Regions from separate parts of the Homo sapiens genome. Here regions 1 and 3 are each linked to region 2. Evidence: promoter capture Hi-C in 16 types of primary human blood cells and fetal thymus (Javierre and others, 2016). All regions are on one chromosome and are shown on one strand. The core of a region is centred on a gene start or on the middle of the fragment in contact, and the rest is flanking DNA. Distances in the headings are between cores, read along the strand shown.

Evidence for each region. Contacts are between HindIII fragments. The CHiCAGO score rates a contact against its expected background, and 5 or more counts as called.
Region 1: a contact is called between a fragment that was not itself captured here and the fragment with the promoter of HDDC2 in region 2, in 5 of 17 cell types (naive CD8 T cells, total CD4 T cells, total B cells and 2 more). The highest score is 7.6, in naive CD8 T cells.
Region 3: a contact is called between a fragment that was not itself captured here and the fragment with the promoter of HDDC2 in region 2, in 3 of 17 cell types (naive B cells, total B cells and naive CD8 T cells). The highest score is 7.8, in naive B cells.

The regions. Positions count from the first base shown.
Region 1 is chr6:125,884,750-125,888,726 of GRCh38, forward strand. It overlaps NCOA7 (nuclear receptor coactivator 7), which reads left to right. Exons shown (of 16, transcript NM_181782.5): 8 at 410-594. Among named protein-coding and RNA genes, the nearest start is that of NCOA7-AS1, 68 kb to the left of the region's middle. The HindIII fragment of the contact is 3,809 bases long and covers 1-3,587 here.
Region 2 is chr6:125,299,624-125,303,691 of GRCh38, forward strand. It overlaps HDDC2 (HD domain containing 2), which reads right to left and starts at 2,344. Exons shown (of 6, transcript NM_016063.3): 1 at 2,226-2,344; 2 at 915-1,036. The coding sequence starts at 2,309. RefSeq lists a silencer at 2,034-2,373 and a cis regulatory region at 3,867-4,047. The HindIII fragment of the contact is 13,888 bases long and covers 1-4,068 here.
Region 3 is chr6:125,864,385-125,868,243 of GRCh38, forward strand. All of the region lies in intron 3 of NCOA7 (nuclear receptor coactivator 7), which reads left to right. Among named protein-coding and RNA genes, the nearest start is that of NCOA7-AS1, 47 kb to the left of the region's middle. The HindIII fragment of the contact is 4,670 bases long and covers 1-3,850 here.

The DNA of each region.
Region 1 (3,977 bases), core at 433-2,932, 580 kb after region 2:
CACATGGTGAAGACTTGCAGAGTGAATTGTAAAGCCCTGTATTCTCGATCGGGTAAGCACTTGGGCAGCCCCTCCCATTTTGCAGACAGAGAACTAGAAAATCTAGGAAATCTGAGACGTGCATGTGAGAACCAGGATCACTCCACAACTGTGCTGTTGCAGCAGCTGTGATAGAACCAGGCTCAGCTGGTTGCCTCAGTGAGCCACATCTGTTTTCTCTGCCTCACCACCTAGCATTGCATTTCTTCAGCCTGTTTTTCTGGTCCTCACAAAGGGGATGTAATTGTCACATAGGATACTGTGGTTCACAAAGTCCATGGAGTGGCCATCTGAGTTAATTAAAGCTCTGTGGTAGTTGCTGAAAGCATTTCTGCCTGAAGTGATTCTGTCCTGTTGCTTTCTCCTGCAGGGTGTGGTTGGCGGTGTTATGATAGTGACTCCTAACAACATCATGTTTGACCCTCATAAATCTGATCCTCTGGTTATTGAAAATGGGTGTGAGGAGTATGGTCTCATCTGCCCCATGGAAGAGGTTGTTTCCATTGCGCTCTACAATGACATTTCTCACATGAAGATCAAAGATGCCTTGCCATCGTAAGACATTTATTTGTTTACCAGGAAAAAAGGGGTGTTGAGAGAGCTAAATGTAGCTTAAAAATGAGGGCATTTGCATGATTGAGGGATTGTGTAGAGGTGATTTTGAAGATGGAAGACTTGTGCACTGAAGAAAATGAGAAAAATGAGAAGAAATGAAAAGAATAAAATCAATGATGGGAAAAGTTGAACATATAAAGATTAAAGGAGAAAAACAAAGAAGCCGTCATGTAAAAATAGTATTTGTTGGGCTTATTTTTCTAAAAAGCAGTGCACGTTCTTAATGAAATTATGAAGGAAGAAAGGCAGTTCTCTGAAAGAAGTTTATCCAATTATCAATAAGAGAATAATGTTTTCTTCTGGGTTTAATTAAGGAGAGTTATGTTTGTCTTCATTTAACTTCTAGGAAAAGCAGTCTCCCTGATTCATGTCCTCCCTCAGTCCTGCATGGAGAGGGGTTTGGGTCTACAGTGTAGTGGTAGCCACCTTCTCATGCTGTGAAGAGGGAGTAATACCAGTTTGCTTTTTCCCTGAAATACAGATGAATATAACTTCAGTCCTGATTACTTTTGCCTTATAATGCTGGATTTATTGTAAAAAAGAGAGGGAAGCTCCCCAGGAAAAAAGAGAAAGCATTAAGAAAGCTCAGGAAATTGATTAACTGATACAGATAATCTGATTTTTACTGTCCTTTCGCTCTACTGTGTCTGTTTCTCTATAAAAGCCAGCAGTAAAAAACTTTAAAAACCTTCAGTGATGGGAAGAGGCAAAGCAGTAGGTCCTAACAGTAAAGAGGGAAACTAGCCCTTGGGGCTTATATGAAAAAAAAAAAAAAAAAAGGAAGTTACTAGGGAAATCCCTGGAGGTTTATGCAAGTAGATTCCCCTGGACTCCTACAGCCATTAGAATCTGGTCCACTCAGCCCTTCCCCAACCTCAAGCCACTAAGATATCACCAGAACATGGGCCCTGAAGTAGTTTCCAAATTTTGCTGCCAGAAGTGTCTAAATGGGTGGCCAAACAAATAGGGGCATTCCCTACTGAAATAGGGCTCCTAATGGAGTAATACCATTGCACATCTTCAGCCTAGGATATTAAGTATTCTATTTAATAATAGACAGTACATCTTTATATAAAAACTTCTCTCAATGTGAGATTATGTTTAATGATCTCGATTACAAGGGATAATGCCATGATTACAGGAAAAGAGCAGAGTTAAGAATCAGCTTCTAATTTGAAATTATTTCAGGGTTGAAATTATTTCAGGGTTGCACATTGATTCCTGCCTTGGATACAGGTATATAAAGGATTTTTAGTCTAATGAACAAGAATGTGTGAGAGTCAGTGTGAAATAAACTTTGTATTGTCTTCAGAACTTCATAAGTTGTTTAAAAGTTAAAAATTACTTAAAACATCATTATTACCAAAAGTTTAATGATAAAACAATAAGTACAAATTACCCAGTGGCAACGTGCAATAGTTTTTAAAAGTGGGTATGTGTAAAACTCCTCCATCCTCACCTTCAAGTTTGGTATTTGTGTGAGAGTGTGTGTATGTGCGCGTGCACACACGTGCAGGACGTTTTGTAGCTCCGGCTGCCACAGTGAGTAAGAAGGTAACAACTGAAAGGATTGTTGATCATCATTAGGTGCCAGGCTAAGTCTAGAAAACATTAATTAACAAACTAGCCAGTTGACAGCATTATGTATGCTTGGCAACTGCACTGCAGAAAAAGCAGATGGTGAAATTAATCTCAAGTGGGGAATGGACAGTTTGGATTAGGTAAAAGAAGAAAGGGGTAGACAAGGTAATCTAGAAAGCTAATTAGAGTGCAGTTGAAGGTATTTTTGTGGGGGTCAAGCTAGGTAGAGAAGGTGAAGAAAGTTTTGCTTATTAATCAAGTATGTGGAAAGTTGGGTTTCTTTGTTGCAGGACTTCTTACAGGCTTTAATATGCCAAATTCAGTTTTGAGTTCCAATAGGGAGATTATGCTACATTTCACTAACTTGTTTGACTCTAGGATGGAAGCATTTTTGACATCTCCTGGGATGCTGATGTTAGGCAGAACATTTTGTGTTTGCAAGTTCCTGCAGAACAGAGATTCTTTCACAGTTGTATTTCAGAATATAGCACTTAGGGGCTCAATGAATGCTTATTAAATTGAAATGAATTATAAATTATGAAGGCTTTTTAAAGCATTTGTTGGAGCCAACCAATTACATAGGCTTTTATTTTCTATTGGAAAAAGCATGAACCTTTCATGCAGATGATTTATAAAATCACTTTGGGAAGACAGTCTTTTGGAACTTCAGAACTTCCTGGTACTTTGTTGCTTTATTGTCATAACCATTTATGTCAAAGCCAAAATAGCAGATAAAGTTTTATCTGAAGATGATCTGACCTTTTTAGAAAATACAATTATTTCTGAAATTGAAATGTTATTCTTTAAAAGGTTTTTATATCTCTGCATTTCAACCCAGTAATAGTACTACTAGTAGTAGTGGTAAGTGGATGGGTTTACTCAAGATATTTCCAGTCATATTTTTTTCTTACACATATTTGAAAGTATTACTATTTTTATTTATTTTCAACTTTTATTTTAAGTTCAAGGGTACATGTGCAGGATGTGCAGGTTTGTTACATAGGTGCATGCCATGGTGGTTTGCTGCTCTCTAGTCATTTTTTTTAAATGTATTTCTTGATCATTTATTTTACACTTGGGAGAACATGTTTAATCAATATTTTCATGTAATTCCGATCTGGGAAGTAAAGCATCTGTTATTAAGGAAAAATAATTGACTGCATCCCAGGACAATATGTTTCAGCTGATAAACGAGCTGCACCATTGCTATAAAGTAAAGCGATATTGTTATGAAATATTTACTTAAGAAATGTAAGTACTATACATAAGAGCTTTTTAGATAAGATTTACTTTTCTATACATTTTTAAATTATAAGATGGAGCAACTGCCGTATACCCACAATAATAGTGGAAGCTTCCTCTTGCATCTCCTTTGGGAGTAGAGGGCTGTCTATGATTAGAAGCATCAGATCCTAAGCCATGAAACCCAGAATCAGGGTTCAAGGTCAGTGACTTTATATGGAGCAGTTAAGTGAGTAGCTACTAAGTCAACGAGCTTTTCAAAATTAATGTAGTTGTTTTCTACACTATTTGATAAAAAGGAAAATGTTTGCACATTTAAGGAATTTTAGACATTGGTACTAAAATATTTCCTCTCCTTTATCCTTTCCTTCATGAAAGTCAGAAACATTATTATTTCATATTTAGAAATCTTATGGGTAACATCTTCATGTTCATGTATAACTTCCAATTCCATCATGTGCTTCCAGTAGGATATGCAACTCTCATGGTTCATTCTTTCT
Region 2 (4,068 bases), core at 1,094-3,593:
CTGGTCCAGTTCAAATCCCAGACTACTCCAAACTGCATCTCTATTGGACTTCATTTTCACCTTGTACCATTTGCCAAAAACCTCCTCAGTTCCACTTCATCTGCTGAGTAACAGAGGACTCCTCAGGCTTCCCAAATGAACTCTTTGCTGCAGTCAAGTTGATTAATTTCTCATTTGCAAAATACTCCTTTACTTTCCTACACTCAGGGCTTTGGTTTATCTGCCCTTCTCTCTGCATGCAGTGACTTCTCCTACCTCTCTGGCTACGTTAACCCTTTTGAGCTCAACTCAGATTGCACCTCCTCCATTAAGATCAACCAAGAACAGGTGATCTCCCCTGCTCTTACAATACTTAACATTTTCGACCATAACTTACATTTCACTTCTTACAGAAGCTATTTTGGGCCTGCGTAATTCACTTGGGATTTATTTACTCTCTTACATGCTAGTAAACTTTTGTTCTGTGCTCAAAAAGCATTTTAACACTTGTCGATTAAATGAAGGGGGAGAAGATACCTCTTTCTCAGCTATGTCTTGCACACACAACTCCAAAAGGAAGCCTCACGAATGGATACTACTATCCATAAAAGGCACTAGGAAAGAGCACACAGTGTACTAATACAATGCTAGAATTTTAGACATAACACACTCACCTTCAAGGCCCCAATATCACACTTAAGTTTCCCCTGATACCCTAGGCAGGCTCTATCACTTGCCAACAGAAACCCCAGATTGCAGTTTACAACAACTGAGGCAACATAACCCACATCCTAAATTTGTATGGTTTGCTTCAAATAATTTTTCTTGACCTATAAACTAACCTACAAGGATTTGACATGGGTCTCAGTAGTAAAAACGGGTGCACACCCATAGACCAGAATCTCTCACGAGCATCAAAGTCCAGCTCAGCTTACCGGTCTTTGTTAAGACGGTCATCTTTGATCACCATAGCCATAACTGCCATCCGGTACATGTGATCTGAAACGCTCTCCGGCCTCTGGACATTTCTGTATACCCAGCCAGTTCGTGGGACTCTCTGATAAATATGAAGAAGAAAAAGAAGTTTTAAAGAACAAATATTAACTATCTGCTATGCTCTTCAAGAGATGTCCAGGATATAACACACAGAAGCCGGGTCATAATTTCAGAACCTATTACAAAATGTTTTGCTAAACTAGCTAAAATGATAGACATCTGGAATCAAATGAACTAGAGAGCTCAGAGAATGAAAGGGGTAGAAGACAGAGAGAGATAAGTCACAAAGTCCATTCGTCAAATTATTCTGTTACTGATGTATAATTATGGAACATATGCAAGTCCTTTAAACAAAAACAAAACTGCATTTTTCCGAACAAGAGTTGCGGCTTTTTGCCTTCAAATAATCCTACACAAGCAGAAAACACTGTATTGAAGGGTCTGAACGTGAACGAGTGATAGGCTTCCAAATTCTGAGGCACAAGGGATAAGGGCACTTCTAATTGCTTGATGCTACCAGCCGTGACTCTTCCTTTTATTCACATCATAACTTCATCTTGTGAAACTGCATTTCTTCCTCAGAATTCTACATCTCTAAGGAATGTTATAAATAGTAGTCAGAGTGGCATGAAACGGATAATTTACTTTGAACTTGGGAGAGAGACGGGGAAGACGCACATGATGAAACTCGTGTGTATTACATTAAATCCCGTTTGGGGGGTGGCCGGGAGAAAAGTCTTGTTTCTGGAAGTAACTGTGAGACAGACATAAAAAGCTCCACTTAAAATCTGAGGAGCCGACAGATTCTGTTCTTCCCACCCGTGCTCAGAAGCAGCCGCGCTTTACACACACACACACACACACACGAGTTCTGGGGTCGTGAGCACACACACACACACACACACACACGAGTTCTGGGGTCGTGAGCCCCGGAAAAGCTCAGTGCAGGCAGGGCCAGGCCGGCTGCTCTCCGGGAACTGGCGCGGCTGCAGTGCGGACCTCGCGGCGCCAGGCTCTAGGCTCAGACTCCGGGCCGCCCCAGCTGGCCAGCCTGTCCCGCCGGCTGCTTCCTCCGTCCACCGTCGGCAACGCGCGGCCGCATCCGCAGGACTGGGGCCTTTCCGGAATTCGGCGTGGCGGACGCGGCGCAGGAAGGGCAAAGACCGCCGGCCGAGCGGGGAGGCCGGAAGCTCCGCCGCCCCACAGTCCCGCCCGCTCGGCCGCGGCCTCCCGGCCTGGTGCCCGCTCACCTTGAGCTGCCCTACCAGCCGCAGGAACTGCAGTAGGGACCGAGCCCCGTGGCCCGAGAAGGTCGCAGAGGAGACCGAAGCCATGCGGCCACCGACCCCGGCTGGGCGGAGCAGGCCGCGGCGAAGCTCCTCCCCGTCCTCCTCCTCCTCCCCTTCCCCTTGTCTTTCTTCCCCCTCCTCTTACTCTTCTATCTCTTTCTCCTCCCCCTCTTCTTCTTCCTTCTGCCCCTCTTCCTGCTCCCCCTCTTCCTCCTCCCCTTCCAACTCCTCCTCCTCCTCCCCCACTTCCGCTTTCTCCTCTTCCTCTTCCTCCTGCCCCTCTTCCTCTCTCCCCCTCCTCTTCCTCCTCCTCCTGTTCTTATTCCTCCTCCCCCTCCTCCTCCTGTTCTTATTCCTCCTCCCCCTCCTCCATATTCTCACGGTTTTCTCAGGACCTTCTGTCCAGCCTTCGCCTTCTTGGCCTTGGTGTCCGCTGCTTGGGCATTGCTCCGTCAGTGGCAGACACCTTGCTTGGCACATACTTGACACTCAGTACTCTTTATGAAAAATAAAGCTCTCCTTTCTAAATTTATGAACCTCGTTATTCTTCAGTTGACAGTGTAAAACCATGAAACTGGATGAGGTCACCTGGCAAGAGGGTGTGAATGAAGAAGAAAAGACACCCAAGACCTGAACCCCAACATTTAGGCTTTGTGAGATCAAGAGGGAACAGCCAGTGAGGTAGGAAGAGGATTAGTAGGTAGGATAGTTGTGTCCTGGAAGCCATGTACAAAAATATTTCAAGAAGGAAGGAATATGGTCAACCAAGTCAATGTGAGGACCAAGGTTTGACTTCCAGACTTAGTAAATTCAATATTATTGGTTACCCTGACAAAAGCAGTTTTCAGTGTAGTGGGCCAAGCAGAACCTAGTGAGATAATTCCGAAGAGAATAGGAGCAAGTATTACAGCACATTGGAGATGGGGTTGGGGTGCTGTTAACTAGTGGAGAGATTGTTTCAAAACAGGAGATATTATGTATGTTTACTGATGAAGGGGATCTAGTAGAAAGGGAAACATTGATTATGTAAGAGACAAAGAAGAGAAATATTTGAATGTCGGCCTTGAGTAAGGAAAAATATTCCCATCTGGTGTACAAGATAAAAGATGGGCTTTAGATAGGAATATGGAGAATTCATTCAAATATTGGAGGAGGACAGAGTATAGGGTGACTAATCAGTCGCACATGTGGTCATGGGAGGTTGTAGAAGTTCTCTTCTGATTGCTTCTATTTTCTCACCAAATTAGGAAGCAAAGTATAGGCTGGGATGTTATAATAACAAACAACCTCCTTATTTCCTGTATCTCAGCAGTTTAACACATCAAAGGTTTATTTCTCTCTCATGCTAAGTGTCTATTGTAGATCAGCTAGAGGATGCTGCTTGCTCTAACCTTACTCAGGGAGCTAGGAGGCTTTCTTTGCTCTCTTTTGCCAAAATTGGAAAAAAGAAAAGTGGCACTCTGGCTCTTAAAGCCTGTCTCTGGAAGTGATATATGACCTTTTGTCTACGTATCATTGGTGAAATAAGTAACACTGCCACGTCTAACTTCAAAGGGGGCCTGTGGAGTGCAATCTTGCTAGGCCTCTGGGAAGAAAGGAGGCTAGAATGTTTGTGAATAGAGGAGGAGGCATTTGAGGTTTAAGGAGTGATATAGTTTGGCTCTGTGACCCCACCCAAATATCATGTCAAACTGTAATCCTCAAAGTTGGAGGAGGGGCCTGGTGGGAGGTGATTGGATCATGGTGGCAGACTTCCCCCTTGCAGTTCTTGTGATAGTGAGTGAGTTCTCATGGGATCTGGTTA
Region 3 (3,859 bases), core at 266-2,765, 560 kb after region 2:
GTGTATTCACCAGAATGCAAACATCAGTCTCTCTGATTGGAGGGAAAATGGATGACCTTTATTTTTTTTTTAAATTTATTTGTGTTTTAAAATCACTACTATGATCTGAATATTTGTGTCCCCCCACCCACCCCCAAATTTACATGTTGAAATCCTACTTCCCAACGTGATAGTATCAGGAGGTGGGACCTTTAGGAAGTAATGAGGCCATATGGGTGGCGACCTCATGATTGGGATTAGTGTTCTTAGCAAAGAGACTTCAGAGAGCTGCCTGGTTGAGAATGCGCTATCTACGAGCCAGGATGAGGGAAAAATACGCCGAGTTTGCCAGTGTCTTGATCTCGGACTTCCTAGTGTCCAGAACTCTGGGAGATAAATTACTGTTGTTTCTAAGCCACCAGTTTATGGTATTTTGTTATAGCAGCCTGAATATACTAAGACAATGGCTGTATATAGTTTTGATTCACGTGAAATTGGCTTTCATATTTCTTCTGTTTTCTTCTGAAGTGTTCATATGCACAATTATTGTCCTTGATCCATTTATGAAAAGAAAAAGCTGTTTTCAATAAAGTATTTTGGAGGGTGGGAAAGAGGGTAAGAAGAGGAGGAGAAGCAACATCAGACACGAGGAAGAGCAGAAAGAACTATTTTCCATGAATGTCTCCTTTGTGTTAGATCCTTTATTTCACTATTTAATTTAGGACTTATGATCTGCTACAAAAAATGTAGCCTATTTTACAAACGTAAAAACTGAGAAGCTGAGTAACTGGCCAGGGATCCACTGTTGGCTAGCATGCAGCCAGGATTCATACCCTGCCCTCTTTGGCACCAAAGCCTGACTTATTTCCACAAACGAGGAGGACCTTCTCCATGCTGAGTGCAGTAGTAGATTCTAGAGCAAAACGTTTTATAAGATTGGTAACTTCCCTGTGCTTTAAGCCTTGCATTTTAGATTTTAGCACAGTATGACTCATTTTAGTCGAGAACTATGTTACCTGTGACTTGCTTGAAGGAAGGAAGGTAGGTAACATGTACTGCATGACATTTTCCTTTGTGCCACAGGTTAAAACAGAGTTCATATTGAGTATAGGGTTCATTCTTCCCTGACACATCTTTTTTTTTTTAATTTAATTATAACAGCTTATACTTTAGGTTTCTCTTAAAGTGCTACCTAACAATACTGAATGTTTTAATTGTGCTTTTTATAGAGTCAGGTCAATAATTTGAGATGTGTGCATCGCCAATAGAGAAGGTGTTATTTCTTTTTAAAGTTTATTTATTTTATGTTTTTTAAAGACAGGGTCTCTCTCTCTCTGTTGTCCAGGCTGGAGTGTAGTAGTGCAATCATAGCTCACTGTAGCCTTAAACTCCTGGGCTCAAGTGATGCTCCCACCTCAGCCTCCCAAGTAGCGGGGACTATAGGCATGTAGCACCACGCCTGGCTAATTTTTATATTTTCTTTCTTTCTTTCTTTCTTTTCTTTTGTAGACACAGGGTCTGCCCATCTTACTCAGGCATGTCTTGAACTCCTGTCCTCAAGCAGTCCTCCCACCTCAGCCTTCCAGTGTTCTGGGATTACAGGTGTGAGCCACTGCATCTGGCCAAGAAGACATTCTTTAGGCAGATATAAGTGCTATATTTTCTTCAAAGACATATAACTTTAGGCCGGGCACAGTGTCTCACACCTGTAATCCCAGCACTTTGGGAGGCTGAGGCGGGCGGATCACCTGAGGTCAGGAGTTTGAGACCAGCGTGACCAACATGGAGAAACCCCGTCTCTACTAAGAATACAAAATTAGCTGGGCATGGTGGCACATGCCTGTAATCCCAGCTGTTCAGGAGGCTGAGGCAGGAGAATCGCTTGAACCCGTGAGGTGGAGTTTTTGATGAGCCGAGATCACGCCATTGCACTCCAGCCTGGACAACAAGAGCGAAATTCCGTCTCAGAAAAAAGAAAAAAAAAAGATATATAACTTTATTTTTTGCTATTCAGTCTTGAATCTCTCTGCATTGATTTGAGAGTGGTCCAAATTTTTCTCCAAATCTTAGCCATTATTCACCTAGCTTCATTTAATTATAATCCTTAAAGTCCCTTGAACCCTTACTGTGCACATTGCAAAGTGCTTTTTCTGAATCACCTTATCAAATTCTTAGGGTAACTCTTTGGGAATCCAGCAGTATCTCCATTTTGTGCACTGGGAGACTGTCTTTAAGTTACTTCCCCAAGGTTACCTAGTGAGCAGATGGTAGACCAGGACTCTCATTCACAGTCCATCTGATGCCAAAACCTTCCCTCCAACATTAAGTTACATGATATTTATGGGGAAATCCAGCCTCCTCTCATTTATAATGGTGCTTTTATTTTCACCAAATTTCTGTTTTTTGGTGATGTCACTGCAATGTTTTAATTGCTGTGGCTTTATAATCATGTGTTTCAACATCATTAGAGTGTGCTTACCCTCACTTCTCTTTGAAAAATAATTTTGGATAGTCTTATGTATTTGTGCTTCTAGATAAGCATGGTTTTCAATTTGGAAACTGTTCCTTTGCCATAAAAAATTATTTTTTATTTAAATTGCATTTAAACATTAATTTGAAAAAAGTGAAATATTTATTTAAAGATGAGATTTCCTACTTAGGAGTATTATATCCATTTAGACACTTCAGTTAAGCATTTTAATTTTATTTATGTATATCTTGTCATTGTCTTGTTATATTTATTCCTAGATGTCATATAGTTTGATACCACTCTACCTGGGACTTTTCCAATTACGCTTCTGTTACAAAAATTAAAAATTATGATATCTGGCCACCTTAGTGAACAACTTTATGAATTTTTGACATTTTCATGATAATATTGGTTCTTTACACAGACAATTATGTTATCTGCTAATGACCACATTTTCATTTCTTCTCAGTATTTAAAACTTTTCATCTGTTGCTTTGACTAGATTTCAGAACCAAGTTGGGTATAAACCATAAATTGATATTGGTAATGTTTTACTTTAAAAAAAGTACTTCTTTTCCTTTTGGTTTCTGATATAAGAGCTCATCTCAGTTTATACAGGTGTACTTTAGGAGAGGTTAGAATAGTGCTTAATTTCTCAAGAGACGTTGAGCATGTGGGTACCTGTAGTGCATTCAAGCACAGAGATTGCCTTGTGGTGCTGTGCAAGGTAGCCTCTGATGAATGGCAGGGATTCCCTCTTTATCCTGGAGTTTCCATTATGTTTGTAGTGTTGCTGCTTTTATCTCCACTACAAGGCTTTTTTCTTTATGACCTGAAATACTTGTGGTTTAGCCTCACATTAGGTTCGCCTCTATGTTGTAATTTAGTGCATACCACTAAATTGGTGGATACCGTGCCCAGAAACCTTAAACACTGTGCTAGAATTGCTGTTAGGCAATTTAGGCCTTTCCTGGCACAACTGGAACCAAAGAAAGGGGGTGGAGCTCATGCAGTGCCTGGGGCTATTTTTCCCTCTGCTCACCTGGAATCTTCCTTCCAGAAAGCTGGGGGTGGGGCCTCACCAGTGCGGTGTTTCGGTAATAAGCCCGCTTCTATAGACCTGGAAGTGACATCGTGAAGTCATTCAGTTTTCATTCCTATGAAGAAATTCCTTTTCGTATATACTCTTTAGCGTTGCATTGCTTTTTCAGAAGCATATTTCTAGTGAATATCAAGAATAAATATTCATCATTAAAGAAGTTCACTCTATTCTTAGTTTTCTAACAGTTGGAATTTTTTTGTTCTTTTTAAAAATACAATAATGGCTGTTTAATTCGTCAAATGCTTTTTTAGCATGTATCAAAATGATCAGATTCTTTTTCTCTGTTAAACAATTTATAAAGCTTTATC